7 separate regions of the Homo sapiens genome follow, and all the other regions are linked to region 4. The links are contacts of gene promoters, found by promoter capture Hi-C in blood cells and fetal thymus (Javierre and others, 2016). All regions are on one chromosome and are shown on one strand. The core of a region is centred on a gene start or on the middle of the fragment in contact, and the rest is flanking DNA. Distances in the headings are between cores, read along the strand shown. Region 1 overlaps GALNTL6 (polypeptide N-acetylgalactosaminyltransferase like 6). Region 2 has its middle 11 kb from the start of LINC02268. Region 3 overlaps CEP44 (centrosomal protein 44). Region 4 holds the start of HAND2 (heart and neural crest derivatives expressed 2). Region 5 overlaps LINC02268 (long intergenic non-protein coding RNA 2268). Region 6 overlaps LINC02268 (long intergenic non-protein coding RNA 2268). Region 7 overlaps LINC02268 (long intergenic non-protein coding RNA 2268).

Region 1 (3,721 bases), core at 1,077-3,576, 560 kb after region 4:
TTACTGGAGCGTTTCGAAGTCAATACCATGCAGCATGTCCTTTCACTCCTAATACTTTAGCAAGCTTTTCAAAGTGAAAAAGACGGAGTCAGAGGGAGAGAGAAAGCGTGAAAGTGGTAGGCAAAGAGAGGAAGAGAGAAAAAACCATTTTCTTACGTATCCACAAATTTACAATAACTACTTAATACTTACTATCATCCAGTATCTGCTCCATATTTACATTCCTCTGGTTATCTAAAATATCTCTTTTCACTTATTCCATGATTAACTGAACTAGTAGAATATATGATTATATGAAATCATAGCATATATAATATTTATGATTTAAACAGGTTTCATTTTATTGTACTTCAGCCTTGTATCTTGTAATCTAGAACAGTTCCTCCTATCTCCTCTTTTCTCTCTGCCACGGACTTATTGACTAAATTAGATTCCTACATTCTAGATTTGGCTTGAGGTGCTATTCAAGTTTCCCTCAACTTCTGAATTTCTTATAGACTGAAGTTAAAGACTTGATTAAATTCAGTTAGCTGTTCTTTTGGTTTTATAAAAAGAATATTTCAGGCATGGTTCTTGATTTCCTGGCTTGTCTAAAATGCTTTCACGTTGCATCATATCATACCAGAATGTGTATGATTCAGTGATGCTAAAATTGATCAGTGGGTTTAGGTGATGGTAGCTTGATAATTTTATTGTGAAGTTTATCATCAATACTTCATCTAAGGTTTTATTATCTAATGAGGACCATTTCTTTAATCAGTTATTGCATCAGGAATTGCAAAATGTTGATTTAGAAAATTCTTTCCTTTTGAATTTATTATCTGAGCATCTGTATAAAATCCCTCAACTACAGAGCTCTTTGGACATCCTGAAATGCACATTATACCAGAAAAGCCAGACAAATGCTTGTTTCCCTTTAAATCTCAATTTCTAGAGTCATGATTTGGTGCCCAAGCAACTGCCATTGGTGCCCAGTGACTTTTATTTTATTTTTCTTTCTCTCCTAACTCCCTTTTAAAAAATATCATTTTAAATTTACAACATTTTGTATATTCAATTTGTTTTAATTAATGGGGTCACTTTTTTATTGTTCATGTTGTCTCATCTATGGCAAGTGGGATCCCCTTCTAGCTGACTCCCATGTCCTTTTGACATGACCTCCACCAGCCTTTGAAAGCTTTCTTCCCTTTCTACTTTCTAGAGTAACAAACTATCTCAGCCCACCGTCTACCTTTCCTGCCCCACAACTAGAATCAGCTATTTCTTCATGAATCTTTAGTTCTATTTGTGAACAATTCTATTTAGAGACCACAATTGAGAGCTAGGTGTGCTCACTGATTGGATTGAAGTTATTTCTAGACTTTTTCAGTGGACAAAGCTAGAATGTGGCTATTTTCCGAAAGTAGCTGATGTTGAAATTTCTAATTCAAGTTTAAGATTGTAGGGTATTTGTTTCTTTAATTTTAGGCTTAGATATCTTTTGATATGTGTTCAAAAATCTTATTTGTTTATAACATTAACATACTTTTAAATTTGTGCATTTGAAAGGAAAGTAAATTCCAAAAATGCTTTAGAGTTAGATAGGTATATTAGATCTACATTATTGATGACATGGTTTAGGTTCTATACATCCTTATTCATTTTGGTCCACTTATTCATTCTTGGATCAAGAGAGGTGTGTTAAGGTTCTATTATTAGCATGTTTCTTTCTGTTTCTCCTTAGATTTTTAGCAGTTTCTGCCTTATGTAAGTTGTTTTCAATGAATTGCAGTCTTTGATATTATAATGTCTTTCTCAGTCTCTTTTAACTTTTTGACTTTTTTTCTCTCTGTATTCTACCTTGCTTCCTATCAAGATCTCAAACCCTTCTTTCTTATTACTTAAATTTGCCTGGCATATTTATGCATATTCTTTAATTTTTAATGTTTCTTTATCATTTTGACTTAGGTATGTCTCATATACAGCAGAGAGAGTTGCCTTTTTAGTCAATCTGAATCTTTTTCTTTCTGTGGATTTATATGTTTGATCTCAGCTCTGACATACTGATTTATTACATAATTTACTGTTATCTAGAAGGTCTTTTCCCATATGGCCTGTTTTCTCTTTCCAATCTTTAGTATTTAATATGGTTTGTGTTTTTGTTCCACTTCTTGCCTTTACACTAATATTATTTATAATAGCTGAAGCTTCTCTTTTTAAATTAATGCCTAACTCTACCTTTCTCTAAGCAATACTAAAGTTGGCTATAACTATTACTGCTTTTCTTCCATCCTCCCCAGTGTCTAAACATAGATGATACTGTTTTACTCCTGGTTAATGCCTATGCGACAATCAGCAAACGTATTCTGCTTTCCACTCACTTTCCCCACTTGTTACTTGTATTATTTCTACATTGTCAGATTATATATAATTTGTATATTCCTCCATCCTGTAGCCAATTTCTACCAGAGCCTGCAACAAGCTTCTTCAAGCAGCTCTTGGTTTTCTAATGCTCCTTCTCCAGCAGATTGCTCAGAAAGGCTTTTGGTAAAAATAATCCCAGAGTTCTTGAATATTTATAACTGCTTTTTGATGGCCTTGTGTCTTAGTCTGTTTTGTGCGGCTATAACAGAATATCACAGACTATAATTTTTAATAAACAAATTTATTTGGCTCATGGTTCTGGAGACTGGGAAGTCCAAGATTGAGGGGCTGCATCCAATGAGGCCCTTCTTGCTGCATCATCCTATGGGGGTGACAGAAAGAGGGAAGGGAGCCAAACTCATTCTTTTATTAGAAGCTTGCTCCCACAATAACCCACTCCTGTGATTGTTGCAGGAAGTCAGGGACCCTGAACAGAGGGACTGGCTGGAACCCCAGCAGAGGAACATAAATTGTGAAGATTTCACGGACATTTATCAGCTCCCCACATTAATACTTTCATAATTTCTTACCCCGTCTTTACTGCAATCTCTGAACATAAATTGTGAAGATTTCATGGACATTTATCAGTTCCCCAAATTAATACTTTTATATTTGCTTACACCTGTCCTTACTGCAATCTCTGAACATTAATTGTGACGACTTCATGGAGATTTATTAGTTCCCAAATAATACTCTTATAATTTCTTATGCCTGTCTTTACTTTAATCTCTTAATCCTGTTATCTTTGTAAGCTGAGAATGTACGTCACCTCAGGACCACTATTGTACAAATTGATTGTAAAGTATGTGTGTTTGAACAATATGAAATCAGTGCACCTTGAAAAAGAACAGAATAACAGCAATTTTCAGGGAACAAGGGAAGACAACCAAAGGTCTGACTGCCTGCAGGGTTGGGCAGAATATAGTCATATTTTTCTTCTTGCAGAGAGCCTATACACGGACATGTAAGTAGGAGAGATATCGCTGAATTCTTCTCCTAGCAAGGAATATTAAATATTAAGACCCTAGGAAAAGAATTGCATTCCTGGGGGGAGGTCTATAAATGGCCACTCTGGGATTGTCTGTCTTATGTGGTGAGATAAGGACTGAAATACACCCCGGTCTCCTGTAGTACCCTCAGGCTTATTAGGGTGGGGAAAAAATCCTGCCCTGGTGAATTTGAGGTCAGACTGGTTCTCTGCTCTCGAACCCTGTTTTCTGTTGTTTAAGATGTTTATCAAGACAATACATGCACAGCTGAACATAGACCCTCATCAGTAATTCTAGTTTTGCCCTTGCCTTGTGATCTTGCTTTGCCC
Region 2 (3,600 bases), core at 862-3,361, 700 kb before region 4:
TATTTCAATATTCAATTTTCAAAATTCTTATTTTAATGTATGAATATATTCAATATTCATTTCAATATTCTGGATCATTTCATTGTCAGTCTTCTCTAATTTTCTTTTCTTTCGAGAATGGGTTACATTTTCCTGTTTCTTCATATGTAGAGTAATTTAGATTGTGTCTGGAACATGGTAAGTAAAATGTTGCAGAAACCCTGGATTTTTATTTGTTTCTCTAAAGGCTTCTTTTTTTTTTTTTTTTTTTTTTTTTTTAAAGCAGCTAGTTAACTTGGCCAAACTGCCAGCTGCAAGCTCTGGTTCCCCTAGAGTTCGTGGCAGCTCAGATTTTAGTTCAGCTTTTTAACCTGGCTATTGTACTTGAAATCTCTTCTGTACATGCATGCGTGGGAGACCAGCCAGCTTTAGCAGAGTCATACACAGAATTTAGGGCTCTCTCTGTGGTTCTTTTCGTATCAGGATTTCCCTCTGCGTTTTCCAGCAGTTGCCATTACCCCAAACGTGTCCTAGTGTTCTTCAAGTCAATACAACTGTAGTCTCCACATGATGCAGAGTGAGGAGTTCCTCAGGCTATGAACTATAAAAATAGGAAACTCACCCAGTGCTATTTCTTCTAAGTATTCACTCCTCTGTAGGATCAACCTGCTTTTGGTTGTTTTCTATTACTTTCAGTTAGTTAATTTTTAAATATTTTGTCCAGAGTTTGTAATTTCATATGTTGGCAGGTTGGTCTGAAAGAACTTCTTGACCATCACTTGAAGTGGAACCCTCTCCAATTGGGTAGTATTCTTTTTCTACTTCCTATGATTACTGAGTAGGGATTTGTTCCTGATTATTTTTAAAACTAGGTGAGTAGAAATTTTTAACATGTTCTATCTATGAAAAACCTTAATTATAAACATTTAGTAAATGTTTACCAAATTAGCAATTCAGTGTTTCCTAGTTGGTGTCCTACTAGGAAGGAAAAAGAAAATGAAAAGAAGAAGAGAGGAAAGAACAAAAATGCTTAACAACTTTTAGAATTCCCTCCAAATTTGTCATCAATAGGGTTTTTACTGAATACATTCTTTTAAAATTAGCACTCTCTAATCTTGATGAATTTGTATTTTCATAAAAATCTGTATTTTCATATTTCCATTCATTTGCACTGTGTTTCTCTTCGGGAAAGCTGTTAACCTTTCTTCATATTTACCTGTTGAATGTTATTTGTCCTTCCAAGTCCTGTTAGATTCTTTCCCCTCCAGGACAACTTTCTTAATTCTTGCAGGTGGAAATTTTGTTCTTGTATCTCACTCAGTGCCTAACACAGATGTTAGCCCAGAGTAGTTTCTCAATAAATCCAGTTGAATCATTTTTGCTCTGGTTTAGATTCTATATAATCACATAGAAATATGGCTTTACTATTTCCATTTTTAAAAAATACATCCAGACCTTTCACAATTTACAAACCAGAGTATATTAGCTAACTTTTAAAAAATATTAAGATTCAACTGTGTATTATTCTAGACATAAATTCACCTCTCCAGAAATAATTTGAACTATCTGAATGAGTTATTGCTACTTGGAGATTGCCTACCTACTTTTTTTCGTGCAGACTCGGTGACCTTTTTTAAAAATAAGAAAAACATCAAGAGTTTGTCATTGATCTTGTTACTTCTTTTAATTGGTCTAAGTTTTTGACAATATTATGAATATTGTGCTCAATGAGAGTAAGCTTATTCATAAGCTTTAATATTTAAAATAACAACTTGTTTATTCAAATTAAAACCTGTTTTCCTGTGTCAAAAGTGAACTTTTTCCTAAATATCATTATTAATAACACTATTGCCTACAGTTTCTTGTCAAGCATTCATAAGTGAATGTGTCTTCTTCTAGAAAGTCATCTTAAGGAAATAATTCCAAATTGGGAAAAGGCAATATGCACAACTTTAATTACATCAGTTTTTAAAAGAAAAAAGAGATGGAAACACTGAAATTCTAACAAATACCCAACAAATATTCGAGTACATTCTATGTACCAGACACTATGCTAAGCACTGGTTGAGAAGACCAAAATACATCCTCATGATGTATTACTATGATGCAATGATATTTATCAATAATATGGGAAAATTCTTACAGATATTATAAAGTATATAAAATTGTACATGTGTGTATTGTACATATATATACACAAATTACAATTATTATATAAAACAAAGCAAAAACCTGTGAATACAAAGAAGAGACTGGCATAAAATATACCAAAATATTATAGATAGTGGATTTTTTGTGTATTTCCTCTTTAAAATCTTCTTAAGGATCATATATTTTAGATAGAACAAAATAAATTAATCAAACTATTCAGAATATGAACAATGTCCCTAATTTACCTAGTAGGCTTTCCCTTCAGAATGTTTCCATGTATTTTTATTCAAAATTTATTTTAAAAAGACACTTAGTTGACCTGTTAAATCATTATCTGGACAAATGTTTTGTTTTCAAGCTTAAAAATGTACATTGTTTTATTTTATTTTTGTCTCATCAAATTAAAGACCAACAAGAGAAAGATATCAAATCTTTACTGAGGAAATTTTTATTTGTTAAAAAAAAAATAAAGGCTTTCTTCCTGGCATGGTTGGACAGGAAGGTTGGATTTAATTTAAAATGATTAATGAGATTTTGTCAGACTCCTTGACTTTGCCACCACTGCAGTTTGTCAGTGCAACAACCTGGGAAGCCGGACGCCACTCTGTCGCCCAAAACCATTCTCCAAGGAAAAAATTAACTGGAAGGACTAGTGCCAGGTCCCCATCAGTGGCGTTGTCTCTCTGGTATTGACAGTTTAAAAGTCTAAATCAGAAATATGTATGTTTGGGGACTCACATACTTAAGATATTGTTTTTAGTCTCTTTGCAAGTAGTTAATCACTTTTTAAATATTTAAGTTGTTGACATTTTCTAAAGGAAACTTTGAAGACAAAATCTGTACTAATGTCCCCTCTCAATTTGTTTTAAAAATTAAAATAAACAAGGAATTTTAGGATCTCAGGTTACATTCTATTTTTTAACTTAAAGAATTAAAGTGAAGCATTTTTTTAAAAGTAAAATCATTTTTCATTGTTCAAAATACTTTTAAAAAACAAGCATGACTAATTTTATAATCAAGTTTTTAAATTAAGGTATAAGGTTGCAATATGACTTAATACACCCTTATTTATGTATGTATTGTTTAAAAATGATGACATTAGCTAAACTCAAATTGCTGAATATACCTAGTTACTAGGTGGCAAATGGAATATATATTTTTGCTTCAATACTGATATTGTATTTAGTATTGTACAAATTGTTGTATTTGACATTTGTGTTTAACTGAAAGTTAAGTAAATGTTAATACCAATTAAACACCAAATGTCAATTGCTAATTCCAAAAACAATACCAATACCAAATTACAATAACAATTGTACAAATTGTTATTTGTATTTGTAGCAATTACCAATACCAGTGTTTATCATTTTATTTCAAAACCTGTCCAAAAGAATTCAAGCCAGAGAAAATTCTTCCAAAAAAATCCTCATAGAAAATGTCTTGATATAACAAGACATCCAGTAGCTCCTT
Region 3 (3,490 bases), core at 485-2,984, 760 kb before region 4:
CAACATGGATGAACCTGAAGGACATTATGCTAAGTGAAATAAGCTAAACACAAAAAGACAAATACTGTATTATCTCAATGTATGTGAAATCTAAAATAGTCAAATACATGCAAGCAGAGAATAGAATGGTGGTTGTAAGGGAACATGGGGAGAACAAAATGGGAAGCTGTTGTTCAAAGGGTACAAAGTTTCAGTTAGGCAAAATAAATAAGATCTGCAGGTACAACCCAGTGTCTGTGATTAGCAATATTGTATTCTTAAAATTTTGCTAAGAAGTTAGATCTAATGTTAAGTGCTCTTATCACAAAACGTGAAAAAAAGATGAGTAGAAGGAAACTTTTCAAGGTGATGGCATTGATTTCTTGTAGTAATAATGGTTGGATGGTTTCACAATATCTACTTATCTCCAAACAGAAACTGTATACATTAAATGTCTATAGCTTTCTGTATGTCAATCATACCGCAATAAACAGGTTAAAAAATGAAGCAGCACCAGATCCCTGTACACACACCTCTAAAAATAGTCCCTTTGTATATAAAGCACCCCAAATTTTCTCCTTCTGAGTGTGTTATCTACTTAATTAAGGGCCTGGACTACAAAATCCAAGTTTTCACTTTTCACCCAAAGTTTTCCATTCTCACACACAGAATTTTCTCGTTCAGTTAGCAGATGCAAGAAGAGAATTTCAGATATTAGCTTTAAATACTACATTCTTGTCTATACCTGGTATTACTAGCTCTACCTAATTCATTTTCTTTCTTACCATGAAATTATAGAAACAAAAAGGTTACTGCAAAACACTTATAAACATATTGTCAGCATGAAATAATTATAATTATCCTATAATAAATTGTACCTTTTGAACAATTTTGGTCACTTTTTGATCTTCGTGTATTAATAAGTTAATACATGTAAATCATAACCAGAAGGGAAAATCAAAACATTCCACTTACCAAGTAATGATGAAAAAGAGAATGTGTGTGATTTAGTTAATTTAAAATATTATAGAAAGCAACAAATAACAGAAATGGTATCTGGGATAAAGTTCCTGGACCTGGATAAGGATGTTTGGTGATATCTCAAGCTGTTCAACACCTTTGCACATGCCATTTCTTCAAGCTTGAAGAGATACAGAGCAACTCCTTCCCTCTCCCATTCTCCATCTGGCTAATACCCCTCGGCATCCTGCTTAAATGTCACCACCTCAAATAAGTCTTAGATCCCAAACTAATTAATCCCCCTCATTAATTTTCTCTAATAGACCCAGTTCTTTTCCTTCTTGGTACTTATCATAATAAAGAACCAAAATCTGTGCCAAGGGTCCAAAATAGCACTCTACCTGAAAAGCAACACTTAATCCTTGTCATTTCTCAGCTCTATTTCAGAATGAGCTGGGTTACTACCTGGGGTCCCATAACGACCTATATCCCAATGGCCTAGAAATAGAAGGAATACACCGATTCCCCCTCTTGATGCTGATTCTTCACTTTAATAAGCCACCACCATTGTCAGTCAAGATGTTTTGCACTGTCATCGGTCCCAAACTCCTGCTGGTTAGCCAGCTGTCTACTTCCAAGAAGAAAAGGTGAACACAGAAAAAAAGGCAAGAAATTCAAAATATCTATGCTTTTTACAGAAAGAGTAAATGGTACAATTATTTTGGAAAACTTACTGGTGATACCTACTAAAAGCTGACATACATGGGGCCTATGAAACAGGAATATGACTCTGAAGAATGTACACAACAGAAAAACACATACGTGAACCAAAAGATTTGAACGAACTGAGACTTTAAACAAAATGATTCATTTTTTAAAAACTGCCCCAAAAGTAATAGCATGGAATTTATTTCTAAATGACTAATTTTCTTGCATGGAGTGGGACTTTCATTAGATTATCAAAGGAGATTTTTCCCAAAGAAGAGTCATAAATAGGTATATAAACGATTAAGAACCTTTGCTGGAAGGAGGTAAGTTTCTGAACTATAAAAGTCTAGTCAGCCAGTAACGTGAAACTCAATAACTTACATAAAAACATCTACCACAACTGTCCATGGACACTTCATAGAAGAAAAGTAATACATAACAATACCTTGAGTAATGAACCCTTTGAGAATGAAGCTCCTTTAAAATGAAGTTATCACATTAAAATGAAGTCATTATATTAAAATGAAAACAGAACAATTCATAAATCAGGTGAAGCTGGGTTAGTGTGATCTTTTCCTCCAATTCGCATTACCCAGCTGTCCAGGATACAAATCATCCCTTTACACACCGTTTCTCTATCTTTAAATAAGGAAAGGTAAGAAGGTCACCGATTTACAAAATCCTAAATTTAGTAAGCTTCCTACTTTAAGCCCCTCGCCACTCATTTCCACAGCCATTTCCCCAGGGTAGAGCAACTGCTCCCTCTTTATGAACCTACCTTTCTGTTCCTAGTCTCCTTTATCAACATGGTAGGCAACAGCTTATTGAATATACTTTATAGACTTGTGCATGCACATTTTAGTCACTATTTTTCAGCCAATAAATTACTTCAACTAAACATTTACATTTCTAGACAGAGATAATTTTAGGTACTGTCAAATGGGAGATAACTAGAAAAAGAGAAAGTCATCCTGAAATCACATTATACAAAACACTGGCCAAGAAGGTAAACCCTATTTAATATCCTTTAGACTGACTGGGGGTAGATGGACACACGGAAGCCTAAAAGGGATTTCCCAAGATAAGCCTTTACTTTCCTGAAAAACATGAAGTGAGGACTACTCTGGCTTTAACCGCAAAAAATGTATTCTTGGATTTTGCCACTGGCCAATATAGTAGGTCTGAGCTTCTTTCGGGTTCCAGACCCATCTATCGTAACACAATTCTTCTAGGGATACCTTCTTCCCAGTAACTTTAATGTAAATTCTATGTCTTTCCAGACTTCCTTTAGTCCTTCCAGATGTATATTCCATTTTCCCAGTGCAAGTAATTCTGTTTTACGTAACACTTTATGATATCTTCTCACCTTTCCTTTTTCTGACATTTTGGAAAACATTTCAGTGTCTCTTACATGATTTCTACCTCTGATAATGGAATTTCTGACAACAAAGTTATGTCTCTCTTCAGTACCAGTGAATAAATATTTTGAAGAGTAATACAAGCAGAGCTCGTGAACGAGGTAAGTGATAGGAGACAGAAAAATAAAGGGATTTAAAATTGGGATTATCACAGAATAAAATTACAGCTACTGCTCTACATTCTCACAAAGGGCTTTACTAAGTCTACTATAAAATTCAAAAGCCTTAAAAACAAGACATTAAAAGAAGCCAATCTATTACTTATGTACATTTTAACACCTTACTTTCATTAATGAAAAATACTTTTAAAAATTTAACATTTTCAACTTATAGCACTGATCAAAGGCAAACTAAGGAAAAAAGGAGATACCACTCAGCTTGCAGCATAGATTCAATAATAAAGAAGCTCTCAATATTCCTTTCTA
Region 4 (3,482 bases), core at 682-3,181:
GTGCTAAAAAATTGCAGACCCACGCAAGTTGGGGGTTTAGAGCAGTAGGTCACTATTTTGTTCCGAGCTCAACTGCAAGCCCCTGGCGCTTACCAACGAGCCTAGTTTCAGTTAATCCCTATTCTAGGTTCAATGCTTTAAGACGCTTGTCTGGGGACGTTCAAGGATGTTAACCCCTTTCCTAGAAAAAGAATGGGCCCTGCACCGACTCTAATCCTGGGCTTTTAAGTCCCTGTCTCCTACCGCCCAGCCGCGGCAAACCTGAAATATATATATTTCTCAATCCTGCTGCCCAAGACTCTAGGGCTAGTGGAGGGCAGAGCCCGAGCACAGAGTCAACTGCAACACCGAAGTTGGGCGCCCTCCATTCGCACTGACCTCGCCTTCCTGCCCCAACCACTTTGTCGGCGGTGAGCAAGGAAAGGACTGTCCTTGTGGAGTCCTTCGGGTGGGGATCGCTTTGTGGCCTGCGGCCGGACTCTGCCCGCCTCCAAAGGGCGATGCTCAAGGTGGAGTCTTTGGTCTCCCTTGGGCTAACCTGGCCTGACCAGCGGCGAGCCCCAGGCCGCCCTGTCCCGCGCTGGCGCCGCAGGCCCTCGCCTCCCTCTAATTTACAGCCCGCGGGCTCCTGTTGACACCGTTTTCCACACCGAACTCCTTCGGGTGGAATCTGCATATACACATCAGCCTCCCCTCTCGGCTTGGGGCCAAGCCTGGGGTGATTTCAGCTCCTGCCATTTACCACCCGCCCTCGCCGCACGTGAGCCTTCTCAAGAAGCTCATGCCACACGGGCGCTGCGGCCCGGGTGCCCCGCGGCCCGGTGACTTACAAGTGGAGATCCATTTTCCGTTATAATGCGTTCAAGATCACCAAGGCCAGCAGTCTCAACATCCACGAGCCGTCCTCCCGGCCTGCCTCTTAAACTGGCGTTTAATGGTTCCCCTCCGATAACTAAACCTGCTTTCCACAGATGCCCGCTTTTATGAGGGAGGCAGGAATGCAGAGATATATTTATATGTTTGTTCATAAAAACTGGAAAATAAGCTCTGAACACGCCGTAAAAAATATTCAGTTACTTACCAAACAGGCTAGTTAAACCAGGGGAACACCGATACCAGCCACACTACAGATTCGGGGAATCGAGGTGCCCGCACTTCAAAATCGCCCAAGGTCTTCGTAGGGACTGGTGTCCCTGAAGGATGTGGAAATAACAGCATTTACAATCGGCTTGACATGTTCGCCCGGAGGACTCAGCCGTCATCTCCAAAGTTTGCCGCAATAACGTGAGCCACCCCAAACAGCTCTAACCGGGGTAACTTGGTGGGTAACTCAATAGCCACTGAGACCGGCGTTTCGAGCCTGTAAACGGGTCAAAGAAACACCCTTCTCCAGCCGCTCCTCGTCCCTGCTGGGGCAAAGAGCGCCAGCTCCCAGCCGCGCCTTTGTGGGGGCCCCCACCGCCCGTCACGAGGCTCCCGGCGCCCCTGCATAAAATTGTAAGAGGCTGCCTGCGTATATTTTCTTACCTCGATTACCTACAAAGCACTTCGAAAAGCAATACCTGCGTTTTCTTTCTTTCTTTCTTTTCAACCAGAAAAGAGAGCAGAGTGATACTGTACCTGGTTAGAGATTCTTCAATATTTGAGACTTGGGGGGAAAATATTTTAATAGTGAAGCATCTGTTAAACACTTGCATTATCCTCTGACTGATAAAAAAAGTTTTTTTAACCCTGCCCCCCCCCCCCGCCAAGTTTTAATTATCTTATGGTTATGAGGAGGTAGCCAATCCTGGAAGAGGACCTCGGCAATTAGCAACGTGAACATCAAAAAGTTTTATTGCCGAGAGCTCGAGGCGCCGCCCCTGCCGCCCCGGGATTGGCGTGAGGAGCCTCTGACGACATATATTAACCCGAGCGGCCCTAAAGATGTAGCTGTACATGGAGATCTTGCTGGGAAAATCCGCTTGCTCCCCTCACGTCGTCCAGCCCAGGAGAACCACCGCCGTCACCCCGGAGCTTCCTCGGCCACCGCGCAGAGCCCTCCGAGAGCCCGAGCCGCGGTCTTCGAGCTCCAAGGCTCATTCAGGGCCCCAGATCCTTGCCCCGAAAGGAGAGGATCTGAGAAAATGGATGCACTGAGACCTCTCTGAAAACCCTCCGAGAGAGCGCGAGAGGAGCGAGGACACGTTACTCGCAGCTAAAATCACATTTAAGGACCAAAACAACAACAACCAAAAATTTCATTAAAACAATAAGCGCCCAAGAACCCAGATCGGGCTGGTGGGGGGAGGGGAAGAGGCGGGAAGGGGAGGGTCGCACGGAGGTAGCTTTGCAGTGAGCAGTCGACCCCGCCGCCCCCCGGCACAGCTGGACCGGCTCCTCCAGCCGCGGCTCAGACTCGCCCCTGGATTCCGGGTTAGCTTCGGTGCCAGGACCGCGGCCCGGGCTTGGATTCCCGAGACTCCGCGTACCAGCCTCGCGGGAGCCCCGGCACCTTTGTATGAGCACGAGAGGATTCTGCCTCCGCGCAGCAGCCCGGGAAGCAGGAGCCGAAGCGCGGGCCGTGGAGCAAGGCGGGAACCGGAGGCGGCGGCGGCGGCGGCCAGGGGCGCACGGTGCCAGGACCAGCTCGCCGCGCCCCATGGGGAGCCGGCGGCCGCAGCGCTGCTGAGGCGGGCCCGGCTGGCCAGGCGGGGGGACGGGGCCCGGGCTGCAGCAGCCCCCTCTGCGGCTGCCGGGCGGGCCCGGGCGCCCGGGGGCTGGGGGGTGGGGGGTGGGGGAGGACGCCGAGCGCTGAGGCAGGGGCCCGGGCCGAGGGCGCGGCGGGGCTGCGCGCACGCTGGGGCGCGTGGAGGGGCGCGGAGGGCGAAATGAGTCTGGTAGGTGGTTTTCCCCACCACCCGGTGGTGCACCACGAGGGCTACCCGTTTGCCGCCGCCGCCGCCGCAGCTGCCGCCGCCGCCGCCAGCCGCTGCAGCCATGAGGAGAACCCCTACTTCCATGGCTGGCTCATCGGCCACCCCGAGATGTCGCCCCCCGACTACAGCATGGCCCTGTCCTACAGCCCCGAGTATGCCAGCGGCGCCGCCGGCCTGGACCACTCCCATTACGGGGGGGTGCCGCCGGGCGCCGGGCCCCCGGGCCTGGGGGGGCCGCGCCCGGTGAAGCGCCGAGGCACCGCCAACCGCAAGGAGCGGCGCAGGACTCAGAGCATCAACAGCGCCTTCGCCGAACTGCGCGAGTGCATCCCCAACGTACCCGCCGACACCAAACTCTCCAAAATCAAGACCCTGCGCCTGGCCACCAGCTACATCGCCTACCTCATGGACCTGCTGGCCAAGGACGACCAGAATGGCGAGGCGGAGGCCTTCAAGGCAGAGATCAAGAAGACCGACGTGAAAGAGGAGAAGAGGAAGAAGGAGCTGGTCAGTACCAGGGGGCGGCAGGCGGTGGGGCTGAGGGGGTCAGGGAACTGGTGCTCC
Region 5 (3,816 bases), core at 5-2,504, 600 kb before region 4:
ATTCAGACCTTCTTTGTTTTAACTAGATATAAAGGATAAATGATTTTTTAACTATCCAATGATTTAAAAAAAAAGTTCAGCAATACAAATTCCACATCTGCTTCAACTGCAGACATATAAAACCAGTGTGACACAAAAAGGATCATTAAACAATCTGATTTTCTTGTTGGGAGGGTTTAATGCTGTTGGGCATAGTATTAAAATGTAGAATTTGATAGCATGTCTTAAACTTTTAATGATGTGTTCATGAATATAAAACATGCTTCTCCCAGTGACTTTATGGCTTCTTCTCTGCATAATTAGTGGTATCTGTTTTATGAGCTTACTGTTGTTTCCTTGATCCCATGAAAATGTGAAACCACTGTAATGATTTACACCATTCCAGAGCTTTAAAGATACGAGCTGTTTCTTAAAATAAATAACAAAAAAAAATCCAAAAGTATAATCCTAGAATTAAAGTCATAGTGGGATCTTTGAATGTTAAAAAACAAACAAAGAGGATTTGTACATAAATACATTTTCAACATTTTGTTTGGTAATATCTGATTTTCAATAAACACTAATATAGAATATATTCACCATTTATTACTTACACAAAGCTCTCCTCTTATTATATATATATATATATTTTTTTCTTCCTCATGGTTGAAACATTTGGGAAAAATCTCTTTGGAAAAATGTACAAATAATTGTTTGGATCATTTGCAATTTGGGGGAGTTACTAATTGAAGTAACAAAGAGACATTCATTACTAAACATTAAAGATCCACAAAATTCCAAGTAAATTATATTATTAATTCTTTTAAAATTGTCATTAGTAGAAGCACAAAAGAGTGTCTGTACTGTTGACTTTTAGACTTAAACTGATTATTTTACTTGTCATAATAGAGTGTATATTATTTAACCAAATATAACTTTGTCATATTGCCTCAATAACTGAAATAACCTTGATCTTTTTTATGATTTCCATTATTTGGTATCCTGAAATGTAACTTTCTCAATGATCCTCAATTATTTTATGTTTTTTTTTTCTTAGTTTGATTACTGGTAGGAAAATTTTATACACGAATAAATTATATGTTATATATTCATGTAAAAATTGTATCCAAAACAGGAAAATAACAAATAATTGGCATAAGTTGCATGTATGTTTGGATTATTGCTAAGCTTTTTCTGTTGCTGTCGAAATGGAGCTGTGGCTGTATGTCTCAGAAGAGTGTCTATAATCAGCCAGGTTTCCCACCGTAAAACAATTGGTTTGGATTCTCTTCTTTGATTGGATTGACTTTTAAAGTATAAAGTGTCAGTTATTTGATGCCTCATGCAACCTATGTAAGCTTAAAAAAGTTTTTGTGGCTAAGGTAAGTAGTTACTTCTTAAGGTAACACTGACTTAGTAAGATGATACTTAACAGACTTAAAATGTTGTGTTTTCATTATATCCACTAAATAAATATAGCATTCTAATTATTAAATTTTAAAATAGAGATATTTCACCATCAGTGATTCTTATAATTTGAGGACTTGCATTACTTTCCTTCTGTTTTAGTAAATAATTTGTTTTAAAGTTATCTTGAAGTTGTTTGGTAGAAACAATCACAATTGTAAGAAGTGGAGCAAACGTCACTTTAAACAACACAAACATGTTAATGACTGTAAAGCAAATATTGGAAATGCGAATCCATTTTCTATTTGGATTCTAGTGAAGATGATTTCCAGTGGAAAAAATCATTTCCAATAAATTGAGTTAAAAACTTTTTGATGTACAGGCCATTAAGATAGAAGTATGGCCCACCCATTCTAGCTGTCTATTCCTGGAAGTATTTTAAAACATTTTTTTTTGCAACATTTCTCTAGTTTTTGTGCTGTATCAACCAAAGGCAATATTCCAGTGCCCAAAGCCAAAAAGATGTCTTGCTTTTACACTAACAGCTTGATTTCCACCCATCATTTATTTGGAGTTTTACTATAATAGCACATTTACTAATAGCACATCTGAAAGTTTCCCTTTTGAAATTTAAAGAGATTAGTGTCCTACATTTATTTAAAGGAAACATACTCCAAATTTAGTGACATTAAGATCAAACAAATGTGTATGAGCTTTTATTTTTTGGCCCCAACCTACAAGAATTTATTTTACTACTCTTTAACCCCCTTCTATATGAACATTTAGTAGTCATTGTTCACGTTCACTGCAATACTCCTTCAATCCATCCAGTTCCTGATCTTAGATCCTAAATTAGCAGTTTTAACTGTGATTTGAGAATCAATAAGGAGAAAGACAAATGCATTGCAAGTGAAATTTGGGTTCAGTTGTAGTTGAAGTGGTAGAATTCTATAATAAAAAATTATCCTCAGGTCACTCACACCTTGGGTTCAAATGCAAATTTAAATGATAGAAATGACTTACATTTAGTACCTTATGAGGTTTTAATTTTAGCCAGTCCTTTTTTTTTTTGAGACAGAGTTTCACTCTTTTTGCCCAGACTGGAGGGCAATGGTGCAATCTCGGCTCTCTGCAGCTTCCGCCTCCTGGGTTAAGTATTCTCCTGCCTCAGCCTCCTGAGCAGCTGGAATTACAGGCACGCAACACCATGCCTGGCTATTTTTTTTTTGTATTTTCAGTAGAGACAGGGTTTCACCAAGTAGTCAGGCTGGTCTTGAACTCCTGACTTCCGGTGATCCGCCCACGTCAGCCTCCCAAAGTCCTGAGATTACAGGCGTGAGCCACCGCGCCCTAGCCAGTCTTTTCTTGTTAAACTACCATATTATCTCATTTTCTAATATGTACTAGTTTTCTCTCATACAAAGTTCATATATATTAAAAACATAATCTTCCATCACACATATGCTTTTTAACTTTTCTAATCCAGTAATTATTTTTGGAACAGCTCTTATATTCAATTTTTTAAGCACCAAAAAAGATGTTGAAAAAAATTACGAAAGTTAACTTCTTGTCAACACTGATATGAGGTCATAAACCTGAGCATGGACCTCCTGTTCCCCAAGCAGCAGCCTAATGAACAAAGCACCAAAATTTCCCAATAGTAAGTCAGAGAAGTAGAACCATGTCTTATTCAGCATCTATTGCAGTGTCTGGCACATGGTACATTTTCTTTTCTTTTGAGATGGAGTCTCACTCTGTCTCCCAGGCTGGAGGGCAGTGGCGCCATCTCAGCTCACTGCAACTTCCACCTCCTGGGTTCAAGTGATTCTCCTGCCTCAGCCTCCTGAGTAGCTGGGATTACAGGCGCGCACCACCATGCCTGGCTAATTTTTGTATTTTTAGTAGAGATGGGGTTTCACCATGTTGGTCAGGCTAGTCTTGAACTCCTGACCTCGTGATCTGCCTGCCTCAGCCTCCCAAAGTGCTGGGATTACAGACTTGAGCCACCACACCCGGCCACATGGTACATTTTCAATATGTTTCTGGCTCATTAGTGTATGAATAACGTAATTTCTTCATCTTTGTATCCCTTGAACGAGCTTAGTGCCCATAAGGGCTTATGTGAGATAATCAATATAACCACCTGTTAGACCCTCAGAACTATATGCAGTTCTCTTGGACCTCATGCTGTCCCACCTGTGTGCATTTTATTCCCCCTACCTGGAAGAAAGCAACTTTCCATGCCACCTTAACTTCTAAACATTATCCTACTCTCTGCTTCAGAAATTGCCCCCAAATTCACACTTTTTGAAACCTTATATTTTATTTGAAGGAAAATTAGAAAAATACACTTATTAATTAAGAAAATATTCCTAGACTGAGAATCACATGAAAGCAAGGACAAACCATTCAAATGGCCATTCGAGGTGG
Region 6 (3,924 bases), core at 224-2,723, 660 kb before region 4:
GGTGTTCCTGTGAGTGTGTTTGTATTGTTTGTTTTTGCTGTTTTTCACTAGTGTTGCTTTTTTGTACCTGCTTTTAAAAAATATTCTCTGAACATTGTGTTTACACAATTGTTTTTAATAATATTCTGGAAAACAGGGTACTGTTGTAATTTCCAGAGAGGATTTGCTTTTCCCCCTACCAAGTAACTGGAAGCACGAGCCAAGTGGGATTATCTTAACTCAATTTCAGTATTGAGATGATTTTAAGCTCAATTACAGTTCCTATGAGTGCTGTACACCACCACCCCACTCTTATCTTTTCTTTCACCCTTTTCATCTGAAGGTTCATTCCTCCAGAGTTTCAACTCAAAATAAGGAGAATTCAACTGGGAACTCCCTTTGGCAGGCTCTGGACTGTTTCTGTTCTCTCAGTCAAAAGCACCATTCCCTCTCTCACCTTTTCTCTTTCAGATTAAGAGGACAGAACCCCACAAAACAGGGGAAAAGTGGCCACAGAGCTGGACTTACTTTTCTGATTATCTTTTATACTTCAGGATCCTGAACTAGTAACTTCATTAACACGTAAGCTTTACCATGCCTTAAAGTAAATATTTTATACATTTTGTCCAGCTTTTCTAATGTATTAGAGACCTGCTTCAGATGATCTAGTGTACCATTCTCCCTTTAATTCTTTTTAATTTCTAAAACTGCTGTTATTTTTGTTCATGTTATGATCAAATTCACTTCAGTGCAGTGGCAATTTATTTGCTGTTTGGTGAAGCCGGTCTAACAGACTAAAGTAGGATCTCTGTGAGCCAGGCATCATCTAAAAAATCTTCATATTTTTCATCTGTTTCACACCTCTTTCCATTCAGATTTAACTAGAATATTTCTTTAAAGTTTTCCAATTATCTCATATTTTCTTTGAGATAAAGTAGCTATTTTTCAGTTATGTGATATACCCAAAGTAGCTCTGGTTTGCCTCCAGGGATCATGGCATCTCAGTAAAATGCATGTGAAACACTAACTTGCACAGACACCCTAAAGATACTTTTGTCTAAATATTATTCAATATGAGCAGTTTTTAACATCACTTTTGAAAACAATAATTGAGGAAGTTCTTTTCTTTATGTGTGTCATGTTTTCTAACTGTACTGTTATAGGTTGCTTCAGTTGTTTTTTGTCTGTATTTGATTTTTTATTATTTCATTCATTCATATGACAGATAATAAAATGGGATTTGAAAAGACTGAAAATCAGTTACGATAGTAGATTTCTTGGGGCCTAATGGAGATAGAAAAGTCCATCCATGAGAGCTTGAGACATTCAGATAAACTTGATATACCCCAGGCCCAGAAAATTTAGAAAAGAAAGAGGTATGATTTGATTAGTCTAGTAATTCTCAATCCTGTTTCCCTCAGCTCAGAGCTCCCTAAGCTAGTGTGTGCATCAGTGAGCTGAGTCATTACCCCAGCCCCATGCACTTGCCTTGCTCTCTGGCCGGAGGTGTCCCTGTTCCTATAGATGAGTGGGCCTGCTGTGGCAATTTCTCCATACTTCCTTGTGTTTTTCATAGAAATGTTCCTAAATCATTAACTTACTCTCCTCAATGAACACCTCTTTTTCTGGTCCTGTGGCTTCCCTGCTGCTGAGAAGTTAGCAGGATACTAGGGAATCTGATGGTCACCCGTGTATATAGAACCTATAAGTGTTAATGGTTGTGGGGCAAATTTTGAATAGTGTGAGTGCTGGTAGATAAGTTTTATTCTCTCCTTTACCCTAAAAGGACCATACTTTCATAAACGTCCACCAGAGAGATCTTGTGCAAAAGGGCAGTCAACTTATCATGAAGCTGTATCCAGAACAACACACTCCCTTCTATCTCCCTCACATTTGCTTTCATGACTGCATTCCTGGATTGTACTCCCCCAATAAAGTGTTAGCACATCTGCTTTGCCTTGGGCTCTGTTTCTAGAGAACATGGCTAAGATAGACTTTATCAGCAACATAATGAGTATTTATGACTGCGATATTGCTGAGTAGGCCCTTGGTAAACACACGTGCAATATTGACTAAAGACTTGCACTTCCCAGAAGGTATTTTGATAAGTATGATTAGCCAATTGAAGTTCAAAACGATAGTTAATAGCAAAGATTTAGTGAGAATTCACTGTCTGCCAGACATTGTGATAAGTGCCTTGCAAGTGTTCTCTTTTTAGTCTTCCCAGTAGTGCGGTTGGTTGGGATACTATTAATCCCATTTTTCTATATGGGGAAGCTGAAACCGAGTGGTTAAATAACTCATCCAGGATCATGAGCTAGAGTCAGAACTGGGATCCAAATTGTACAATTCCAGAACTTATGTTCTTGACCACAAACTGTACTACCCGAACAAAGCTTGGTTTTTGTTTTATTTAGTTTTATTGGTCATACCGCTGTTTCTTACTGTGATGATACTAGAAAGGGCATCTGGGAAAGCCATGCTTTTCAGCATCTTCTACCTACCTGTCCTCTAACAAAGCTCCTTTTTAGAACACTTCTAGGATATTCATGCCCCCATCTAGCATTACTTTTCTCACAGTGTTGACAGTGTCAGCCTCATCCTTAAAGTTGAAGAAAGAGGAGATTGCAGTTGTTTCTGTGAAGAATGCAGAAATATGAGAACTAAGTGTGAGAAATTCTTAAAAGTTTAGCAGTACCAAAATTTGAGTCATAAATGTCAAGAAATGACTACACATTGGCTCTGATTTAAGAAACTATAGAAATTAAAAAAAAATCCCATATGGAACAGCTGAGAAGATATCAAAAATGACAAATATTGTTACCAGAACTAATCAGTCAGACATCTGTTAGTCCAGATTAATTATAAAAATCAATAAACTGATGTTCTCCCAAGGGAAGAAAAACGTGAATGCAAGTGTATGGTTAAAAGCAATTCCTTTTTTGATATTTTCATTATTCTCAAAAAATAATGTATTATTTCATTAGTTTACCTAGCATGTCCCACCTGGCTTTTACCTCAAGTCAACTCATTGAAACAGATAAATACGTTAATGCTTTAAAAAGTATTTGCAAATTAAAACAATTAATTTGTTAGAAACAATGAAGGCAGTATAGTCATTTTGGCTTGATTTTATCCTTTTTTTATTACTTAGAAACATGATTTAAAATGATATTATAAATTGTTTCCAAATTGATATTTAAATCCCTAGTAGGAAATAGTCTCAGAATCCATTTGACCTGAAAGTGGTTGTCACTCATCTCAGTAGGAAAATCAGGCATTTTCATAATTAAACCGCATTCAACAAGTATCTATCTTGAGCCTACTATTTTACTATTTAGGGGCTAGAAATATGGAAGTGAAAAAGGCATAAAATTCCTGCCTTCATGAAGCAAACATTCTTATAAGTACTCAATCAAGATAAGGGCAGGTTTGCTTGAAGTCTTGTAAACTAGAAAGAATGTCATCTTCTGGAGTAATGGGCCGGCACTGAAGTCCCAAAGCTCCATGTTCCTCCCCAGTGACACAACCCATAGCAGAATGTAGCCCAGTGATAGAGGGACTTCTCTGCCATTTGCCACTGGGTTGGGTCAGGATTTAACATGAGTGCCCTTGCTTTCTGATGTCCTCAGCTCTCACTACACAGGTGCTGTCCTGTTGGTTGACGTGGCAGATGTTTCAGTCTCAATAGCCCAGATTGTGATGCTGTGACACCTTCACTAGCAGGGACGTGGTTGATAAATGCCAACAAAATTCGGTGGCCTGCTCACCAAATAAAGGTTCTTCTTATTTTGGGAGTGGATTCACACTGTTCAGTTTCTCTGAAAGTCAAGAAAAAACTGCTGTCTCATCAGTCCTGCAGGAAATAAAAGAAAAAAAAAAGACTCAGGATCTTATTAGACTCTGGGCATTGGAGAGAGCACGTGCCTCTCTTGAGCATTCTAC
Region 7 (3,682 bases), core at 5-2,504, 580 kb before region 4:
AATTGAAGCTTTGTAGTTATTAAACTACCTATTACTTCTGATGTTACCTTTTGGACAAATGGTATTCATTTAATTTTGGGTTCTGTGAATTTTTGATTTTACAAGAACCCTTTGGCTTTAGAAAGAGAATGAGAACATCTCTGGATTCTTTCACCCCTTTTTAACGGTGGGGCTCCGTGTACTTTCCACTGAAGGAGTGAGCATTGTCAACTAGTTAACACAAGCTATTGGAAAAATCCCTGAATTTTGTATGGGAAGAATAATTGCACACAAATGCACTCAGGAATCCTATGGAAAATATAGTGCTGTTAACTGGCATGGTTACAACACAATTTAGCAAGTATGTTAGAACAAATTACCCCCTTTAACCATAAGCCATTCTGTTTCACGCTTCTTAATGAAGGCCTGTGCCACACACTAGAATACTTCTCACCTCATTACTACTCATAAAAAGCAATGATCCATTCAAAGTCTCCTCATATCTCCCATATGAGTGGTAAAGAGCTTCGCCTCTCATTCTGGCAGGAGGACAGGGAGGCTTCTTCCCAGCCTGCCTTTGAAGTAGGTCATTAGAATGTTTACTAGATAAAAGGACTCAAAAATTTATCTGTGTAATCTCACTGTTGTCATGTGTTAATGTTCTATCCTTCCTTTAAAAACAAAACAAAACAAAGCAAACAAAACCCAAAGACATTTCTGTCCCTGTTTAGAGAATACAGGAGATTTGTAACACTCAGTGCAATTTTTCTCCTGCAGTATTCACAAGATATTTTCAAAGAAACTCTAAAAAGCAGGAAGAATTTAATGGGCCACTGAAATACAAAGTATGGATTCAATAAAAAGGCAGGAAGAGAAGCAAGCTGATAGGCCAGTTAAGAAGAAACAGTCCAATTTTAGAATTAAACAACTTTTTCTCTCCACGGAGTGTCATCAAAAGGAAAATAAAGTTGAGTATCCTTGGAAATAACATTGTATCGGTTACTAATGAACACGATTTTCATCTAGACTGAAATATTTTTCCCCTATTAATTTCAGGGACAATATATAATACTACTTAAGATGCATTGTGCGTGCTCAATAAAATTTGAGCTGAATGCATGCTTTTTAGATAATGATGATAAGTGGAGAAGGAGGAATTTTTTCATAATTTTTTTGAAGACATTCTAGGTCTAATCCAACTATAAAATTATGTGTGTATATGCATGTGTGCATATATATATATATATATATATATGCACATATTTTAACATCTGACTGTATAATAAGAATGAAAAAGGCTATAGAAGAGTAAACATATCCGAAAATACTATTTAACAACATTAGAGCATTTCAATTAGCAGGAGACATATTTGTCATCTCCATGACATACGAATTTCCATTTTGGCTATTAGCTTAATAGTATCCAAAAGAATAGCAATGTTTGCAATTCAAGAAAAAGCCCATACTAGGTACCAAAACAGTTTGAAAACAAGGTACTAATATCTAACTTCTGTAATGCAATAAAACACTGAAATCTGACACAGATTATAAATTTAAATGGTGTTTAAAATCAATTTCTTTGTAGGAAAACTACACTTAATATAAACTCTCTGATGACATTTCCAACCTTTCTTTGTGGTATCTCTGAAAATTTATCTCATCACCTGATGCAGTACCGTCAAACCCTACCCAACACTTACGCTGAGCAGTTTCTAAATTAAATTGCTATTCTCCAGGCGCTTTCCCAGAAACGCAAGCTCACGTCAGATCACACTCACAATGCTACAGGAGGGAAATGTTGGTACTGTATTTTAATAGGCCAGGGGAAGCACGTGCTCCTAGAGACCAGTCGGCCCCTGCGATAATAACTGCACAGCTTTGTTTCATTTGAAAACATACATCTGTACACACGTACTTACTCAGACATATATCCATGTATACAGAAAAAAGTTCAGCTAATAACAAAAGAAAGGATGAACATTGGCACTGTAGATGTTGACAGCATTATGCAAACTTTTCAATATTCCCTTGCATGCTCAACTTTAACTTTTGTTTATAAATTCCACTTAGACATAATTTACAACTTCTGTTAACTTAAGCTGGGTTCTGTAAATCTGTCTAAAAAAATCAGGGCAGAGTGCTTTGAGATGTTACAAATATATCTAGATATCAAACATTGAGCTGCACAAATTGTATCCACTTTGGAAACTCTAAGTTTGTATTTATGTCCATAATATATTTTAGTTCTGATGTTTTTAAAATGATGAAGCAAGTCTTACTCTTTTTTTCACCCTGCCTTTTCCAATCCTTGCTGAAATATCTATGAAAGAGACTTATGAGCCCAAGACAAATAAAATGAGAAATTCTGGAGGTTGTCACGATTTAAAAACACTTTGTAAGGTGATTTGAGGAGAAAAAAATACAAAAGTCAGGCAAAATTTCTTGCTAACTACCTGAAATTTGTAACTTTATTCTAGTATAGTTTAAAAACTTCAATACATAAAAATGTTATAAAGCTTTGTATCTGTTATTTCACCCTTGCAGAGCTGTTGCAGAGATCTTACCTTCTCATCTTTTTTTAGAAATAGTTGAAATGTCAGAAAAATCTGGATTAAAAGAAAAGGATAAATCCCACCTCTTTAGTAATTCTTCCTATTTATAAATTGCTTTTGCGATCAAAGACAGAAATTGAAGCTCTTCTGAGAGTTTGAATTTTAAAATAACAGAAAAGCAAAACACTTGGCTTCAGTTTTTTTCATTTTTTTTTCACTTTCCTTGAAAGAAGCAGCTGTACTTTTCACTCTGCAGTTTTGGGAAGAATGGAGAGTCCTGACTGATGCCCCTTTAAACTGAAAAGAGAACACTTAGCCAGCAGCATACATTTACAATAGGCTTTGGTTGGAGTGAATTACTCTAATTTGGGGCAGGAATTAAAAAGATTAAGTGAAAAGCAAAATAATGGAGAATAAAACAACTTGATATACTTTAATAAAATGGTAGTTTTTAACTATGAATATACAGTTGTAAATCAAGTATTAATATTAAAAAGGGGGGCAATTCCATATCAAAATGCAATTGGCTATGCATGTGGAGACTTTCTTAAAGAGAGTGTCAGATTCAATTGCATTATTTTCCAGTGGTGGAAGATAGCGGTTGATAAAAAGGTATAAATTGACAGGTAATTTTATTCAGAAGTAAACTTATGCTTCTATCAAATTTAAATTGCTTAGCAACAACCAGAATAATTTCGACTGATAAGGTTATTGTCTTTTCTTCTGCTGGTATGTTGCTGTCTCTCATATTTCAGTGATAATTCTCCAGTTCACGGCTGTACGTGTGGATGATCAAAGAGAAGCATTTTAGCTCATGTATGGTACAGCTTCCTTTAAAAGTTTGCTCCAGCATTGTCCAAGCCCTCTTTGGTGACCTAAATACCCTCCTAGGCTAGATTACTCATTTCCATGGCTTCAGCTACTATCTGTCCTACCTAAGTTTTCCAAACTATATTTCTAGATCACTTATGTCCCCCAAGCTCTAGCCCCTCTTCCTGCTTGAATGCCTTATAGGCGTCCCAAATTAAACTTCTGTTCTTCAACCCCTCCTTTCTTACTTGGAACCCTGTATTGGTTCATGGCCTTAGCACCCACCTACTTGCTCCGGTGAAATCTATGAGTTGTCCTTGTTCTTTCCCTTTCCTTCCGTT

What was found. Contacts are between HindIII fragments. The CHiCAGO score rates a contact against its expected background, and 5 or more counts as called.
Region 1: a contact is called between a fragment that was not itself captured here and the fragment with the promoter of HAND2 in region 4, in 1 of 17 cell types (non-activated CD4 T cells). The highest score is 5.1, in non-activated CD4 T cells.
Region 2: a contact is called between a fragment that was not itself captured here and the fragment with the promoter of HAND2 in region 4, in 1 of 17 cell types (endothelial precursors). The highest score is 5.8, in endothelial precursors.
Region 3: a fragment that was not itself captured here is called in contact with the fragment with the promoter of HAND2 in region 4 in 1 of 17 cell types (endothelial precursors); the score reaches 5.4 in endothelial precursors.
Region 5: a fragment that was not itself captured here is called in contact with the fragment with the promoter of HAND2 in region 4 in 2 of 17 cell types (megakaryocytes and M1 macrophages); the score reaches 6.1 in megakaryocytes.
Region 6: a fragment that was not itself captured here is called in contact with the fragment with the promoter of HAND2 in region 4 in 2 of 17 cell types (endothelial precursors and erythroblasts); the score reaches 6.3 in endothelial precursors.
Region 7: a contact is called between a fragment that was not itself captured here and the fragment with the promoter of HAND2 in region 4, in 1 of 17 cell types (megakaryocytes). The highest score is 5.1, in megakaryocytes.

Annotation. Positions count from the first base shown.
Region 1 is chr4:172,970,170-172,973,890 of GRCh38, reverse strand. The region is part of intron 10 of GALNTL6 (polypeptide N-acetylgalactosaminyltransferase like 6); the gene reads right to left. Among named protein-coding and RNA genes, the nearest start is that of GALNT7, 200 kb to the left of the region's middle. The HindIII fragment of the contact is 275 bases long and covers 2,189-2,463 here.
Region 2 is chr4:174,229,980-174,233,579 of GRCh38, reverse strand. No RefSeq gene overlaps it. Among named protein-coding and RNA genes, the nearest start is that of LINC02268, 11 kb to the right of the region's middle. The HindIII fragment of the contact is 759 bases long and covers 1,732-2,490 here.
Region 3 is chr4:174,285,098-174,288,587 of GRCh38, reverse strand. All of the region lies in intron 1 of CEP44 (centrosomal protein 44), which reads right to left. Among named protein-coding and RNA genes, the nearest start is that of CEP44, 2.9 kb to the right of the region's middle. The HindIII fragment of the contact is 1,223 bases long and covers 1,123-2,345 here.
Region 4 is chr4:173,528,678-173,532,159 of GRCh38, reverse strand. It overlaps HAND2 (heart and neural crest derivatives expressed 2), which reads left to right and starts at 1,931. Exons shown (of 2, transcript NM_021973.3): 1 at 1,931-3,425. The coding sequence starts at 2,871. HAND2-AS1 (HAND2 antisense RNA 1) reads right to left here and starts at 1,789. Exons shown (of 5, transcript NR_136196.1): 1 at 1,621-1,789; 2 at 1,082-1,193. The HindIII fragment of the contact is 6,850 bases long and covers 1-3,482 here.
Region 5 is chr4:174,130,199-174,134,014 of GRCh38, reverse strand. All of the region lies in intron 1 of LINC02268 (long intergenic non-protein coding RNA 2268), which reads left to right. Among named protein-coding and RNA genes, the nearest start is that of LINC02268, 88 kb to the left of the region's middle. The HindIII fragment of the contact is 170 bases long and covers 1,170-1,339 here.
Region 6 is chr4:174,191,197-174,195,120 of GRCh38, reverse strand. All of the region lies in intron 1 of LINC02268 (long intergenic non-protein coding RNA 2268), which reads left to right. Among named protein-coding and RNA genes, the nearest start is that of LINC02268, 27 kb to the left of the region's middle. The HindIII fragment of the contact is 1,809 bases long and covers 569-2,377 here.
Region 7 is chr4:174,108,451-174,112,132 of GRCh38, reverse strand. The region is part of intron 2 of LINC02268 (long intergenic non-protein coding RNA 2268); the gene reads left to right. Among named protein-coding and RNA genes, the nearest start is that of LINC02268, 110 kb to the left of the region's middle. The HindIII fragment of the contact is 2,487 bases long and covers 11-2,497 here.